Regions from separate parts of the Homo sapiens genome. Here all the other regions are linked to region 4. Evidence: promoter capture Hi-C in 16 types of primary human blood cells and fetal thymus (Javierre and others, 2016). All regions are on one chromosome and are shown on one strand. Each heading gives the region's core, a stretch centred on a gene start or on the middle of the fragment in contact. The rest is flanking DNA. Distances are from core to core; before and after follow the strand shown.

The links. The method cuts DNA at HindIII sites, captures the fragments that hold promoters and counts their contacts. A CHiCAGO score of 5 or more calls a contact.
Region 1: a contact is called between a fragment that was not itself captured here and the fragment with the promoter of STAU2 in region 4, in 3 of 17 cell types (fetal thymus, M0 macrophages and naive CD4 T cells). The highest score is 7.7, in fetal thymus.
Region 2: a contact is called between a fragment that was not itself captured here and the fragment with the promoter of STAU2 in region 4, in 1 of 17 cell types (naive CD8 T cells). The highest score is 7.8, in naive CD8 T cells.
Region 3: a contact is called between a fragment that was not itself captured here and the fragment with the promoter of STAU2 in region 4, in 1 of 17 cell types (neutrophils). The highest score is 5.9, in neutrophils.
Region 5: a fragment that was not itself captured here is called in contact with the fragment with the promoter of STAU2 in region 4 in 1 of 17 cell types (fetal thymus); the score reaches 6.6 in fetal thymus.
Region 6: a contact is called between a fragment that was not itself captured here and the fragment with the promoter of STAU2 in region 4, in 2 of 17 cell types (fetal thymus and M2 macrophages). The highest score is 10.6, in fetal thymus.

What each region holds. Positions count from the first base shown.
Region 1 is chr8:74,339,292-74,341,991 of GRCh38, reverse strand. No RefSeq gene overlaps it. Among named protein-coding and RNA genes, the nearest start is that of GDAP1, 9.8 kb to the left of the region's middle. The HindIII fragment of the contact is 588 bases long and covers 1,029-1,616 here.
Region 2 is chr8:74,360,430-74,363,129 of GRCh38, reverse strand. It overlaps GDAP1 (ganglioside induced differentiation associated protein 1), which reads right to left. Exons shown (of 6, transcript NM_018972.4): 4 at 1,152-1,246; 5 at 77-191. Among named protein-coding and RNA genes, the nearest start is that of GDAP1, 11 kb to the right of the region's middle. The HindIII fragment of the contact is 1,047 bases long and covers 727-1,773 here.
Region 3 is chr8:72,997,009-72,999,708 of GRCh38, reverse strand. No RefSeq gene overlaps it. Among named protein-coding and RNA genes, the nearest start is that of TERF1, 11 kb to the left of the region's middle. RefSeq lists an enhancer at 2,021-2,632. The HindIII fragment of the contact is 4,004 bases long and covers 1-2,700 here.
Region 4 is chr8:73,745,420-73,748,119 of GRCh38, reverse strand. STAU2 (staufen double-stranded RNA binding protein 2) reads left to right here and starts at 1,280. Exons shown (of 15, transcript NM_001164380.2): 1 at 1,280-1,337. RefSeq lists silencers at 778-1,067, 1,148-1,237, 1,528-1,707, 1,818-1,877. The HindIII fragment of the contact is 14,890 bases long and covers 1-2,700 here.
Region 5 is chr8:74,301,051-74,303,750 of GRCh38, reverse strand. The region is part of intron 2 of JPH1 (junctophilin 1); the gene reads left to right. Among named protein-coding and RNA genes, the nearest start is that of JPH1, 19 kb to the left of the region's middle. RefSeq lists an enhancer at 2,182-2,683. The HindIII fragment of the contact is 3,913 bases long and covers 1-2,700 here.
Region 6 is chr8:74,317,111-74,319,810 of GRCh38, reverse strand. The region is part of intron 1 of JPH1 (junctophilin 1); the gene reads left to right. Among named protein-coding and RNA genes, the nearest start is that of JPH1, 3.1 kb to the left of the region's middle. The HindIII fragment of the contact is 2,218 bases long and covers 145-2,362 here.

The sequences.
Region 1 (2,700 bases), core at 73-2,572, 590 kb before region 4:
GAGGATTCATTGTGATTTTTAACATGTTAACTAACACAATTTTAGCACATGGCACATAAGAAGTATAATAGATAATAATGATAGAATGGTAAAAATAACTGACTTTTTGAATACTCTGGGTAAATGTCAGCTAATAATGTGTTCTCCAGTGTATCCTGCCAGATTGGCTGCACTCTGTAACTTCATTTTTGGCAATTCTCTCTAATGGTTTACAATGAATTTTAGGTATTTATACTTCAAAAATACATGTGAAATAATCACCACTAGCTGGAAATTACAGTTGATGAAAGAAATAACAAATAATAAAAATTCTTAAATACTACTCATATTTCCACAGATTCTTTTCTTGACTTCATGCTAAGCCTGTTGAAAATCATTAAAAGAACATCTCAATGGTTATATTAATATTCTGCAAAAATCACTTATAGTATGAAAGTAAGAAAAATCTAGGAGAAAAAAAGGAGGCACTTCCCACTGTCATCCAATATTTGAATAAAACTAATAGTATCACAAACATTTGTCTTATTAAGAATAATTAAGAGTTATATTTATAAATGCAACTATAAAAGCCTGTAGGATATTTTAGACACAATCTTAGAAACGCACACTGCACAGAGGATACTTAATGCTTAGGTTTGAAATTGCAGCTTTTAATTAGTTATATTTCCTAAAGTTAAGTGCTTTCTTACTAATTTAAAATGTGTTTCTGTACATTTTAACTATCCTCTCAGTGGAGAGTGCCTTTTTCTTGCTATTTCCCAGTAAATGATTCAAGTAGTCTTCCTGGACATCTTATTTTATCATTCTCTTTTCATATTTAAAGGAATCTTTCCAGAGACTTAAGATCATTTGGAATATAGCTTTGTCATTCAAATTAGAGTATTTAAGAATACACTGGAATTTATTTTTCAAACATCCTTGCTGTTGTGTTCTTTTCGTCACTAAATAATACACAGAAAAGTTAATTTATGTCTGCATTGTCTCTGGCTACGTGAGAAACACGGCATAAAAACTCAGAGACATAAGCTTTAAAGAAAGAAAATGCTAATGTTGCAAAGGTTTCTCTAAGTAAGATTTTGCTTTGTAACTGTATAAATAGGGCAAGTTAAAGTTCTGGGCAGCAGCAGACAATGAGCAGCAATAATCATTTATGTTTCTTTGGCACCAGCTTCAACACACTGGTATGATTTTTTTTTTCTTAACCACCCGTTACCAAGGACAGTGACAGCACAAATATGAGAATGATTACAGTACTATAAAAACATACTTCACTTACCTTGTTTGTCTTAATAAGATCCTAAAGAAGCATAAGATAACAGTGACAATAGAATATAGTGCTGAATTTTACAGAGACACCAAAGTGTAAAACAACATTGGCTTTCACTTAAGTACTATATTTTTCAAATAAAAGTAATATTGCAATCCATAAAGAAAAGATCAATTTAAATCCTCAGTATGTAATTGAAACAAATGAAAGCACGGAGTTGAGTCTGTGGTTACTAAAGTTCCATGAGAGAAAGGGGTGATGTGGCCAAAGTGAACCTGCTTCCAGGGATTCCCTGCGGGGACAGGTTGGAAAAGTCGGTGAACCACAAAGATGGCAGAGCGGAAAAGCTTCACTTTATGAAACTGCATCATTTTGGAGCAGGGAAGTTTAACAGAAAAAAGGGAAACTGGTCAAATTCAGGTGATGCCTTGGTTTCCAAAGCACATATGAAGAATCAGCTACATATGTTAGCTTGAAAACTATTCAGCCTAAGAGACTCCTGCTGTATGCAAGTTATGAAAATGCATAAGCCCCATCCTACCAGTTTCAAGTGGCAAAAGAAGATGGTAAAAACACAACTCCCCAGAGATATGGACATTTAGTATATGAAATTGGAATATATATGAAAATAGAGAGATGAAGTTGAGGCATCTAGAGCCTTAATGGCTAAAATCCAGTGGCTTGGTCTGGAAGGGAAGCCTTGATGAGTTTTGAAGGGAGATATTCCTTCCTGTTAGACTTCCCAGAGCAAAGGTGCTGATTCTGTGCAAAGAAGTCACTGAAATCTGATGGGCCCTCTTTAAATAACTGATGATCAATGAGAGCCCTCTTTTTTACCTTCCTGATTACATCTGGGCCTTCACGGCTGTGGCAGCTGCAGACAACAGCAAGTTCTCAGGCAGACATGCAGGGAAGTTCTCAGCTCCGCTCTCAAGAGCCCTGAGCCAGTTGTCCTGAAAGCTGATTTAGAATGTCCTCCCCTGTGGCCAAGAGGGTGCCAAGCCCCTTCTAGCTCTGAGTTGGGGTCTAGACCCTATGCCCTGTTTCTTTCTGTGCTAAGTCACAGCTCTGAAATCAGCACCAACTTTTGTACACGTTGCTTCCAAAGCCCTGAGCCACCCCTCATAGCAGTGGGCCTGCTGGGTGCCGTAAATGTGATCCTGTCTGTCGTTTTAGCCTCAGCAGAAGAGCGACATGACCATATTTATTGCTGTTGCTATTCTGGGGGGTGGATGACGTTTTTCTCCCCTTGTGGCTGAGCCCTGCCTGTTCATCTTTCACCACTCCCTCCAAGTCTACAAGACTAAAACCAGTGATACAAATAGATTCTATCAGGAGGAAAGTTAAAATGAGAAGTTCTTAGGCATTTCCAAATCTATCTGCTGTATGTCATCAAAAGCTTCAAAATCTGTTGGCCTACATTTTAAACGTGT
Region 2 (2,700 bases), core at 1-2,500, 620 kb before region 4:
TTTGGTGAGACCTAAGAATGTTCCCATGAATAATACTGATGTTGAAAAGAGAGAAAGAATATAAATGAGAACCTACCTGGGGTTTCTTCATTTCTTCTTTGCAATTCAGTTTCAACCTGATCCAAGACTTTCTCCAACTCATCAAGAATTTTCTTCAAATACTTGACATTGTCATGATCAAGCAGCTTTGACTAATTAACCACCAAAAAAAGAAACCAAACATATTATTTGCACCTTTAAAAAAAATAAATCTAGGTAAAGCAGATACAAACTCTTACAGAGTTCAGCCTATTTTAGACAACGAGAAGAAATAGAAAAACTCAGCAAAAAAAAAAAAAAAAAAAAGAGAGAGAGAGAGCTAAGTTGAAGGGAAATATCCCAGCTGTGAAAATGACCCAGGAGCAGACCCACCACTCACTGGCAGCTCCTATGAGGCCAGATGACCACAGAAGGCAAAGAATGGGAGGGACACGAAGAGCCATCTGCCAAGCCCAACTCAGGAAAAGAATTCTAGCAGCCGTAATTGAAAGAGTAGCTGAAGGGTCAGGGATGAGTAAGAAGTCCGAGTGAAGGAGTTAAACGGCGAGTGGAGAGTCAGTCAAGTGACTGTGAGTGCAGGTGTTTCTTCTGAGGAGCTCGTTTAGCTACGATAGGATAAAGGAAGGTGGGAAGTTGGGGAGGGTTGGGAGTGCTGCTGTTTTCTACACTTTTAATATGAGAGAAGCTTGCAATAGTTGCTGGGCCCGGGGAAGGAATCAACAGAAGGAGAAAGGCTGACCATAAAGCACACTCCTCAGGGGGCAAAGCAAGTCAGGGCGACACATGGAGGGATGTAGGTCTAGCGAGGACTTCCAGTGGTGGAATACCTGAAATGACAGATTCTAGAATATGTTATGAACTTCCTTTGCATTTCATAACTTTTTTGGCAACCAGCATGCTCAATATCTGCTTGTTAAGCACTTGTCATCAAGTTTCAATATCAAGTCTAATAAAAAATTCTTTCTAAAAGGAGAACATAAGCCAAAGGTAACATGTGTACTGGTGAACTGCAATATTTAAAAGAAGATATTCTAGAAATAGTGGTACTTTACAAAAAGTAGAACATTTACTCCGTGCAGTGTATGTCAACTGAGGACAGCTGATTGGCTTACTTTAAGTCGTTTCTGTTTTGCAATGTATGCTTCTTGTAAATCTGGGTTTTCTTCAGCAAGTTTCTTCAGCTCAGACTCTGTGTTTCCAATTTGGCCTGATAATAAAAACATTTTGGAAACAGAAAATTATTTTCTCCCTTCTACACCAGTAACAAGGAGAAGCAGAGAAACTCAATGACAAGAGCATGAGCTCTGGGGCTCATGCCCTGCTTCTCTGCCTTGGGCTTACCCTGTCTATGCCTCAGTTTCCTCACCTTTCAAATGGAACCATAAGAGTATCTGCCGGCTGGGCGCGGTGGCTCACACCTGTAATCCCAGCACTTTGGGAGGCCGAGGCGGGAGGATCAGGAGGTCAAGAGATCGAGACCATCTTGGCCAACGTGGTGAAACCCCGTCTCTACTAAAAATACAAAAATTGTCTGGGCGTGGTGGCGCATGCCTGTCATCCCAGCTACTCGGGAGGCTGAGGCAGGAGAATCACTTGAACTCAGGAAGCAGAGGTTGCAGTGAGCCGAGATGATGCCACTGCACGCCAGCATGGAAACAGAGCGAGACTCCATCCAAAAAAAAAAAGAAAAGAAAAAAACAAAGAATATCTGCCATGAAGACTAAATGAGAAGCTTCATGGGAAGCACTTAGAGCAAGGCCCAGCACTTTACAGTGCTCAGTGCAGGCTTGCTGCTCCGCCTTCCTCTACCTTTCAAGCTTTCTATAATGAACTCCTATATGAAGGGAGGAAAAAGCCTTATTTTTAAAAAATATTAACTATAGGTCATAGAATTATAGTCAAAACTCTTGTTTCAAATACTATAAAGGGTATTTATGAAGAGGAGGAGGAATAAGAGGAAAGAGAAGCAGGAAGAGAGGGCAGTGGAGAAAAAGGAAGAGAAGGGAGAAAAGGGAAGAGATGAAAAGGGAAGGGAGAGGAGAGGAAAAGGAGGGGTATCAAAAAGGAAAAAAAGAATAATAAGAATAATAAAGGTGAGTATCACATAATGGGGAACACATGGTTTCTGGATTTAGAAGATCTGAGTTTGAGTGTTTCTGATCAACATTCCCAAAGTGTGACCACTGCCACAATCCTTTCCCTTCTTATCTCCAATTATCTCTGCTATAAAGCACACCTCCTGCTCCACAGATCATGCACTGACTATTCTCATGACAGGAGGAAGGCAGAAAGCTGGATGTCACAACTCAATCCCAATAAATCTACTATCACTGAACATAGAGACAGAGTAATAGTTAGACACCCTCTAGTCCAGTTTCCTCAAATAACGAAAACAACAATTAAGGACCAGTAACATGAACTCAACTGCCCATAATCCTAGGCAGATCCCAGGTTTTCAGATTCCTAGTCCATCTGTTCATGAGAACATGTTATATTCTTTACTCTTCCATAATCCACTCTTCTGAGTTTTACCCAAGATTGGCCCTCAAAGCCAAGAGCTGATAAATCAGGTCCTATAGACAATAAATGTCCAATTGAGCAAGTGAAGCACAGATTAATCCGACTGGTTCATGGATCGATCCATAACATGCACATCCATGA
Region 3 (2,700 bases), core at 165-2,664, 750 kb after region 4:
ATTGAGCTGCTATAACAAAATGCCACAGACTGGGACATTTATAAACAATAAAAATGTATTGCTCAAAGTTCTGGAGGCTGGAAAGTCTAAGATCAAGGCACTGATTGTTGAGGTGTTGGTGACAGCCTGTTCTGTTTTTCGAAGATGGTATTTTCTTTTTGTGTTTTTAATTGGCAGAAGGGGCAAGGCAGGAGTTCCCTTCGACTTTTTTTTTTTTTCTTTTTTTGAATAGACCAGGGTCTTGCTATGTTTCCTAGGCTGGTCACAAACTCCTGGGCTCGAGTGACCCTACTTCCTCAGCCTCCCCAATTGCTGGGATTATAGAAATGAGCCACTGTACCCAGCCCAACCTCTTTTATAAGGACACTAATTCCATATACAAGGGTGATGTTCTCATGACTTAATCAGTTCCCAAAAGGCTCTAACTCTTTTTTTTTTGGAGACAGAGTCTTGCTCTGTTGCCCAGGCTGGAGTGCAGTGGCATAATCTCAGATCACTGCAAGCTCTGCCTCTCAGGTTCATGCCATTCTCCTGCCTCAGCCTCCCGAGTAGCTGGGACTACAGGTGCCCACCACCACACCCGGCTGATTTGTTTGTATTTTTAGTAGAGATGGGGTTTCACCGTGTTAGCCAGGATTGTCTTGATCTCCTGACCTCGTGATCCACCTGCCTTGGCCTCCCAAAGTGCTGGGATTACAGGCGTGAGCCACAGCACCCAGCCTGCCCTAACTCTTAATATATCATGCTGGATATTCTGTTCCAACATATGAATTTGAGGGTGACACCACAATTCAGACCATACTGCATACTTAGCATTTATTGCATGTATAATAGTTGCCAGCAACTTTCTCTCTCTCTCTCTTTTTTTTTTTTTTTTTTTTTTTTGAGACAGAGTTTCACTCTTGTTGCCCAGGCTGGAGTGCAATGGCGTGATCTCGGCTCACCACAACCTTCACCTCCCGGGTTCAAGGGATTCTCCTGCCTTAGGCTCCCAAGTAGCTGGGATTACAGGCATGTGCCACCACGCCTAGCTAATTTTGTATTCTTAGTAAAGATGGGTTTTCTCCATGTTGGTCAGGCTGGTCTCAAACTCCCAACCTCAGGTGATCCTCCCACCTTGGCCTCCCAAAGTGCCGGGATTACAGGCGTGAGCCACCGCGCCCGGCCAGGTGACAGCAACTTTCTAACTGTACCATATGTATTAACTCATTTAATCTTCATAGCAAGTTTATCAGGTAGATATTACTATTATCTTATAATTTTGTAAAGGATGAACCTGCAGCACAGAGAGGGTTATTAAATCACCTGAGGTTGGAAAGTGAGAAAGCTAGTTAGCAAGTTAGGGACACACAACTTGAAACCAGACACTCAGATTCCACATTTTCACTCACGTCTGTGTGAAGAGACCACCAAACAGGCTTTGTGTGATCAATAAAGGTTTTTAATCACCTGGGTGCAGGCGGGCTGAGTCCAAAAAGAGAGTCAGCGAAGGCAGATAGGGTAGGGCCGTTTTATAAGATTTGGGTAGGTAAAGGAAAATTACAGTCAAAGGGGTGTTGTTCTCTGGTGGGCAGGAGTGGGGGTCACAAGGTGCTCAGTAGGGGAGCTTTTGAGCTAGGATGAGCCAGGAGAAGGAACTTCACAAGATAATGTCATCACTTAAGGCAAGGACTGGCCATTTTCACTTCTTTTGTGGTGGAATGTCATCAGTTAAGGCAAGGACCGGCCATTTTCGCTTCTTTTGTGGTGGAATGTCATCAGTTAAGGCAAGGAACAGGCCATCTGGATGTATACGTGCAGGTCACAGGGGATATGATGGCTTAGCTTGGGCTCAGAGGCCTGACACACATTATTCTCTTTTCTCCCAATAAGGCCTCCCCAAGGGGAGTAGACATTAGCCAGAGTTCATGTTCCTCGTCTCTGTTCCTTACGGCTGGAGATCCATCTCCTCTTTCTGCTAAATACTTAAAGCCAGAAGCTCTCTTGCATATCAACTTTTGTAGATAAGTGCGTGGGTGTATGAAGCAGGGCTGCCAGATCCTCCCATTTAATGACTTAGGATGTCACACACAGCATGATAAATTATTCTTCGTCACAACAGGATTATTTCAGATGGAAAAGGATAATATTTTGTCTTATTTTAGAGAAGGTTCACGATCCAGAAAAAATATTTTTAACTTGTCTCAGGTCACAGTTGTTGGAATCAGGAGCAAATCTTATTAATAGCTTCTGATGCCAAGGGACAATGAAGTTTTGCATGTAAGAGGATGCTCAAGTTCTGGCCAGTTAAATCTCTGAAAAGAGACAAGAGGACCACTCTCAGCCCCGTTGTGAACCTGGCTGGGGGTCTTAGAAAGCCACGAGGAAGGGGCATTGTGGAGTTCAAGTGCATCAGCAGCAGCAAGTGATTGGTTTATAGGGGTGCTTCTTGTGGTGCTTAGAATTCTTCACGGGGCTTCATCTACATATCATATCGCATTCAGAGCAGGGAGTGACTGCAGGTCCCGCTACTCAGATATGTGACCTTAGACAAGCTAGCAACCTCTTTGCCTTGGTTTCCTTCTTTGTAAAAGGGAGGTCATGATAGAAGATATTGCATAGAGTTGCTGTGAGGATTCAATGATTTAAAGAAAGCACTTATAAGTGCTCAATAATATCAGCTACTGCTAGTTTTCTCCATTGTCCTGGTTTTCAAACATT
Region 4 (2,700 bases), core at 31-2,530:
GATGCACAGGATAAGTAACATGCCCGTGGTCTCCTCACCAGTTAGCAAGCGGATATCCAGCCTTGGTTATCTGACTCTGGCGCCCTTGCGGTTAACCAGGACACACACTACCTTCCCAGGTGCAGACATGAGATTGGTTTTAGATGATGACTGAAATCACCGGCCTGGGAGACATTTCTCAGTCAGAGAAGTGACACTGGGAAGAAACCCTAGAAATAACGTTGCAAACGAGTAAGTTTGTGAAAACACACTAATAGTTCTATTTCGAAATTTCTTTGTCAGATTATTTTTGGTGCCGGTTACTAAACGAAGTGTTCAGTTTCATTGAGCTTAACTGGGTTGAAGTTATCTAGACAAAAGTAATCCACATCAAAACCAGGACGAATTAAGACGTAATTTCTGTTTTCTGGCACTCTTGCCTCATAAATCTAGGATTCAGGGCATTGTTTTCAATGGTTCTCATTTTTGGCTCCAAGGATTCTTTTTCATGTGACTAATATTTTCGGTAGAAGAGGAGGTCTGGCCACGCCGCGGGTCTTGGCGAGCAGGTGATCACGGATCCCTGGTGTTTGCTGGGCGAGACGGTGAAGCAACCTCCTCCCCGCCCCCTCCCCCGTCTAGAAAGGTGCAAGATCCGCTAAACCGTGCGTTGCACAGCGGCGGCCGGAGCAGACGCGGGATGGTCGCGCGTCCCCTGCACAGCACAGAGGGGCAGCCGGAGAGCCTGGGAAAGGTACGAGCGGGGAATCAGAGCACAGGGTGCGGACCAGAAAGAGCAGACGGTCAGTCGGGCGGGGAAGGAAGTTGCCGAGTTGCAGGTGTGGAAGGGGCTGCCCCAGGCCCACCCTTGGCAGACGAGGGGGCGGGGAGTCGCGCCGGGGACGAGGAGACTGCGGACCGGGCGCGCTCCTTGCGCAGTCGCTCGCCCGCGTGCCCAAGCCCCCCGGGAATGGCCCTCGCCCAGGGGCCCAGCTCGCCGCCGCTAGCCCCGCAGAGCCTGCAGCTGCTGGGGCCCGGCAGCCGCCAGGGGGCGGGAGCTGCGTCGCGAACAATGGCCGCGCTTGGTCGCGGGCCGGCGGGAGGCGGAGTGGAGGTAGAGCCGGTGCCGGGCGCGCGCGCCGGCCGGGCGTGCTGGGGCGCGGGAGCGGCTGCGCAGGCGGGGGCGCGCGGCGCGAGCGCGGGAGGGCGCGGCGGGAGCGCCGGGGAGGCGGGCGGAGGCGGGCGGAGGCGGGGGGCGGGGAGCCCGAGGGGTGGAAGCCGGCGGCGGCCGAGCGGGGTCAGTTCTCTGTAGTGTTTGCCAATGTTGGAGCCGTCTGCAAAGTGTCCCCGGCAAGAAGGTAAATACCCTCATCGGGGGCGTCCGGGAGACCCCGACTTCCGCGCCGCCGGCGAAGAAGGCAGAGGGCGCTGGGGAGCCCTGCAGTTCCGCAGCACGGGGAACCCGGAGAAAAGCAGCCCCCTTCGCGGCCTCCCCTCCCCCGCGCCTTCCCTCCCACATCGGGCTCTCGGGGCAGCAGCGGGGAGGGGAGACCGGCGGGGGAGGGAGGACAGGGAGGCGAAGGAATTGGGGTGGGGGGTGCGTGTGTGGTGGAGGGGGTGGGACGACACAGGTGTCCTGAGGGGAGGAGCCGGGAGGAAGGCGAGGAGGCCGGGCCAAGTGGGGGTGCGGAGGTCGGGGAGACAGGAACGCGGCTGCGGGCGCGGGAGGCTGGGGTTCTAGGGGGCCGGGGTGGTAGCGGCCGGAAGAGAGGACGGCGAGTGCAGCCACGGTGTGGCTGCGAGGGAGAGGGAGCGCCTAGAGTAGGGCAGGGGAGGGCGGCCCGGGGAGGGTCTGCGGGAAATGGGCCTGGGGGCGCTGGAGGCGGAGCGGCGGGGCCGGGGCGCGCCGGAGGGTGGCGGCGGCAGCTATTTCTGTAGAATGGGCTAGTGGTAAAGACGTAACTTGCCGAAATGGGGAGGGTAGGTGGGGCCGAGGGGACAAAATATATCCTATGACAGGCAAGTTCTGCTGTGGCTGTTACGAACTCCTACCGTGATGGCTCGGCTTAAAGGGGTAGTTGGCGGTAGTGACCTTGCCGGGGTGAAGGGAGTTGGGCGAGGAGACAAAGCTCAGTTACGGAATCCGCTGTGTGAGAGCAGGAACTCTAGTCTCTTCGGGGTCGAGCCGGGGGCTGTGGCTTGGGGGCTGGGGGTGCTCCGCAGAGGCCATTGAGAAGCACGCCACTCTGGGATTCTTAGGGAGGCGGTGGGGGTAATGGCCGTGGGATTCTGGAAGTCTTTGGAAATGTGTGTAGAATTTTGCATTTGTGAATAATTTTCTTTGGTAAGGGTCCATATTTGCTGTGATGTCCCCTTACCCCCATCCCCACTCCAAAGGGTTAAGAACTGCTTGAGCAGATAGAGAGGGACCATTCAATTAGGGTAGACCTGGGAATTTACCAAAGGATTTTAAAGTGGGTGGATCCTGCAGAAAGAAAGGCTAGAGATGATCCTTTAAAGATATTTTACTGTTAATTGAAAACGTTTTTTATTTAATGTTTGCTTTCACAATTTTGGTGAACTTTTGCTGAGCATTACTTGGCTTCTGATGCATCCTGTGTTTCAGACCAGCATCGTGAATACTTGAAATCAAAATTGTGATGGACAGGCAGGGTGATAGTAACCTTGGAGGAGAAAAGATTTCAACATTTCTCCAGGATA
Region 5 (2,700 bases), core at 155-2,654, 560 kb before region 4:
CAGGCTGGGCACAGTGGCTCACGTCTTTAATCCCAGCACTTTGGGAGGCTGAGGCAGGAGGATCACTTGAGCCCAGGAGTTTGAGGCTGCAGTGAGCTATGATCACGCCACTGCATTCCATCTTGGGTGACAGAGCAAGACCCTGTCTCTAAAAATAAAAAAATAGTTATCTGCTAACTAGTGATCTAAGTGATAGCCTATGTGTTGGGCTAAGCTGTGGCAGTGGGATGGAAAGAAGCAAATGATTGAATGAGAGCCTCCCAAGCAGATTCACTAGGACCTGTGGCTGGTTGAGTTAAGCATGGTAAGCCTAGAAAAGGAGTCATCAGAGTGGCTCCAAGTTCCTGGCTTAGCCAACTAATGGATGGTGGTACTGTTTACTCAGAAGGATACCAGACAGGAAGGGACAGATTTAGGGAGGAAGATAAGTTTGGATTTTTGGCTTCTTGAATTTCAAGATGCTAGCCTAAAAGATAATGGGGGAAGATGTATTTGGAACTCAGAGATTTGAGCTGTGCTTGCAGAGCTTGGAGCCAAACCCTGGGAAAGACTTACGGGACATGCAGAGAAAGAGGAAATCCTTGTATGTAATACTAGACACAGCTCTTTTTAAGAAGTACAAGTAAAGCAGTTCTCACATTAAGTGACTAGGAATTTGTTGCCTTATGACAATGCAATTCAGGTATCTGAATTTCTATTCTTGAATTTGTGAAGTTATGCTTTCTAAGGTTTGTGCTCAAGGGACCTACCCAGTGAGCAAGCTCTGTTGGACTGTTTTTTTTTTTTTTTTTCTTTTCTTGGCAACCTACTGGAACAAAATATCACTCTCACAAATTATTATGCTAAAGAAACATCATTTGGCAAACATTTATTTAGTGCCAGCTCTGTCCAAATATGGCACTAGGCCCTGGGAATACAGAGATGAATAAGAAACAAAACCTGTCATTAAAAGCAAATACCCTACCAGGTTCACAGTACCTTTGTGCAACTGGCAGGTGCTATGAGGCTGCAGGTTGGAGGGACCCACTGAGAGGCACCTATGACCCATCCTGGGTGAGCTTGTCACAGGCACTTTCCTGGAGCTCTTTGCACCAGCAACACTCCTTGCCTGAATGCCTTCTCCCATGTCCCCCTCCTTGCCTAAGCCCTGTCAGTCCTTAGCGATTACACTCAAGTTCCATAGCAGGCATGGACTGCATTAAGAAATAAAATGTCTCTTCCAATAAGTAATTTTACACCTGATAACAGGAATGCTATCAATAGAGCATAGAAAATATATGTACAAATTTTATAATGCAAAAGGGAAAATTACTAGTGGTTTCTTTAAAAAGTTTAAAAAATTATTTCTACCTAGAGTCCATAAGATACAATTTTGGGTGGTAGCAGGATCTTATTAGCAGTATTTGTGTACAGAAACATTAAAGTTAGCAATTTGCAGTAAATGAATGTTTTGGCAGTGTTTCCAGATAAGGAAACAATGTAGATGCTGCTAGGTTTCCCTAAGGAAACAATGTAGATGCTGCTAGGTTTCCCCTAAGTGTGTTATGCACTGGTGCACATTGTTCTCTTCTTGTGGTCTGAGGTCAGTAATTTGGGTGATACCTTTTGGCTACACACAAAAAGACCCAACAGGTCTTGAGTGGTTACCTGCTGTGTGAATTTGACATCTGTCATCTCCTCTCATCCCCATGGCAACCCTGTGAGTTGGTAGGAAACTGAGGCATAGGAAATTCACATGGCAAGCACACGGCAGCGTCAGAGCCCCAAGCCCTTCCCCTCCACTGGGTTTTGAGAATTGGGATAGGAATTTTTTTTGAACCCATGTACCCTGCTTAGGCTCATAAAAGAAGATCTGTCTGGGAACAGTATTATTTAGTCATAGACTTCATTTGGCCACTGTTTCATTTAACAGACATTGTTCATTCAACAGCCACAAATCTTGTGAGCCAAACAATCATAAAAAGATAAGGTCAGTATAACATGGTAAATTCTAAGAAAAAAACCATGACAGTGCAAAAGAGGGAAGAACACTGAGGGCATATGGGGCTTACAGGGATGAGGCTGAGCCTGTGCAGGTGAAGAATGAGTGGAAGTTAGGGAGCAAACAGTGGCCAGTGTTGCATATTGGAGGAAGATCCTGAGCAAAGGTGGAGTGGAATGAAAGTGTACAGTGTGAGTTCCTGCAAGCAGTTGGATAGTGGAAGAACGCTTTCTCCAGGAGCGATCTGTCCGCCCACTGCAGCAGATCACAAGGGGTGCTTAAAATTCTCTAGTCCTCCACCCAGTACTGAATTAATGTTTCTTTGCATAAGGTCCAGAAACTTGCATTTGTTACAGACTTCTCAGGTTATTCTTGGGCACACTAAAATTTGGAAAGTGCATCGGGAGGATATGATAAGAAACAAAATTCCCAAGGTTTGGGAGCTGCATTTTCTGCTTTTGGCTTTGGGGAGTCTTCAAAGGCATTTGAGAAGGGAGCCATCTGCCTTTGAATGGATGGTCTGCCTGCTTCATGGAGAAAGAATTTAAGTGGGGCCAGGACCGGAGGCCTGGTCTGTGGAGGAGGTGATAAAAGACCCTGGTTGAGGGCAGGGTGGCAGAGACAAAAGGGATAAAATTAGCAGGACTTGATGGACTGCAAGTAGTGGGTTAGGAACAGAGGCAAGTCTGAGATGTTGTGTGGATGATACTCTAATACCC
Region 6 (2,700 bases), core at 4-2,503, 570 kb before region 4:
TCATATTTAGTTGAAAAGGGTTGTAGGAGGCGACATCACTTTTTGGAATTAAGCAGCTCAGAGTTGGAGGATATTAAAGGGATGCAATTAAAAGTTTCTCCAGCCCACTGCAACCCCATTTATACCATTGCTTATATAAAAGCTTACACAATTTGTACACTTCACTTAGTCAGAACACTTGGGCCGTGTTTCAAATGCAAAATGGCAGAATGGTAGAACTTGCTAAAAAGGACATCTTTTCATCCTACAGTATAAATTAAGCATATGGTTCTCATGGATTAAAAGAAAAAAACGTTCTCTAATAGTTTTATGTGGGGCTGAGTCCCGAGTTTCACAGTAGTTAATTGGGACCCTTAAATGTTCTGAATGGGCATAAAGTACCTGGTTGACAGCGCTGTAAATATGTCAGTTTGTGACTGGATTTTGTTGGAGGCCCCAGCTCTACTATATAACTAAATTCCATGCTCAAAAGTAGAAGGCAAAATTTATTGTTTTAAATGTGTGCATTATTTTATAATCTTTTAAGAAGGCCAGGGATGGTTCTCTTCAGTTTTGGAAGGTTAAAAATCGTCTCCTTTTAAAGATACTATTCATTAAACACACTCTCTTGGTTTAGAGTATTCATTATACCTAGTAATCAAAATATATATAGCACAGTAGAGGCTGTCTGTGTACATGTCGTAGAAACCCAAATAAGTCTCCAGAATGATTTTATGAATAATCTGCCTTCAGTTTTAAAATAAACTTAAAAAAAAACTTAAAACTTGGCATCATCCTGGGTGGTACTGTGGTTTTCTTCTTCTACCAAAAAAAAAAATCTAATATGCTACAGTTAGGAAGAAAAACCTTAAAAATCACTACTGAATGTCTACTCTATGCTAATAGATTTTCTACTGTCTCATATGTAACTATTTCATTAGAAAGTTCTCAATCATAAAAAGGGAGTCTAAAGCAAGTTTATTGCTGTAACTTATTTCATACAAAGGTTTTGGCCAAAATAGGAATATCACTAAAAAATTAGCTTGTTTTCTGCTGTTCTCACTAAGGAGTTAGCTTGTTTTTGTTTGCACTCTCCCCATCGCCACATGTCCATCCCTGTACACCCTGTATCAGATTCAGGGAAAATCTGATTCCGAGTTTTTTTGTGGTGACATTAAACTGGAGGAGGAAGGAAGCAGTAATTCCATGTGAGACGTATCACTTATTTTATTAGTGATTTGTGTATTACATGTTGCTGAAATAGAAACCCCCTGAATATTAACAATAAGTTAGTATCATACTCATGAAATCCAAGTCTAGGTGCCCAGAATTTTTTGTGCTAATTCTGATCTGTACTTTGTTTTTTCACTTGTCATAAAACTATTGAAAATATCTGGGAAAACACAACGTTTTGTTAACTAGATGCATACTTGCACATACCCATTCGGAGCATATAAACTGAAGTTTGGCATAGTGCAGTGCAAATTTGACTGAAACTCCTAAACTGGATGCCTTCCACTACAAGATTGTGTAGTTAAAATGACTAAATCTAAAAAATTAGCTCCCAAATGAACACAGTTTAAAACTGGTAAAAGTAATTTTTATACTTGTGAAATATGCATCTACATTTTAGGAATCAAGAGGAACTAATTAGAACTTTATTTGAGCAGCAGGGAGAAGTTGGAACCCACCTGCTTCATAAAGAAATAGGCCCTTTCTTATTCTAGGTTCATTGACTAAACTAAACCTATTTTAAATTTCAGATGAACTGCTAACAGTTTGACTGCAAATTGGTTTCTAGCAATTCTGTGGAGGAATTCTTTCATATACTGTGATTTAACAAAATAGGAGAGGAATGTGGCCAATGCTCTTGTCCCCCCCTTCCCTATTTGACAGTTAAGCAGAGACTTAAACTTTCTAATTATTGCTGTTGCCTTAAACAGCTTGGATTTTCAAGCCATACTTTTTTGGAAATTCTAAATACTGTACTAGTCTTATTTTTGGAGATAACAGTTTAAAGAAACTAGCTGTTAATTTTCCATCAGTGTTAAACATTTACCAAGATGGTATGGCTGTGTTTTAAAAGTGCAGATACTTATTGATATCAAACAGCATCTCTGCAAATTGTTCTAGCAAAATTAACTTGTCACTATAGACAAAAGTTAGGAGGATGTGATTATAGCATTCTTTTAACCAACAAAATATTAAAAATAAGGTGGTTTATTTTAGTATCTTCAAGCCAGATTGTGAAACTTTCATCCTAGAATTTAAATTTTACCTGTATAGGCAAAGGAAAAGTCAAAGTCAAAATTTCCTAATAATTCCATTCCCATTCCTGTTAAGATGGCGGTATTTGGAGATGGCCAGTATTCAATAGGAAGCTTCTTAGCCTGAAATGTTTTACATGACTATCTTATCCTCTTGAGTTAATCTTTCAGAGAAAACTGTGGGCCACCCACCTCCTCAGAAGTTCATAGATGTCAAGTTAAGACTTCACATCTACCCAGAATATGACATTTACAGTACCAGACCCACTTAGTATTTCATTGTATATCTACTATTGCCTGTGTCACATATGCCAGAATGAACAAAAAGAGAAGGTAGTCTTGAAATTGGTCAAAACCGTTGACTTGGGAGTCATTATGGTTTTAACTTTTAAGTGCAATGAAATAACCAGCCATTGTTAACACAGTTATATAAAACCACTAGCATTTTTGCCCG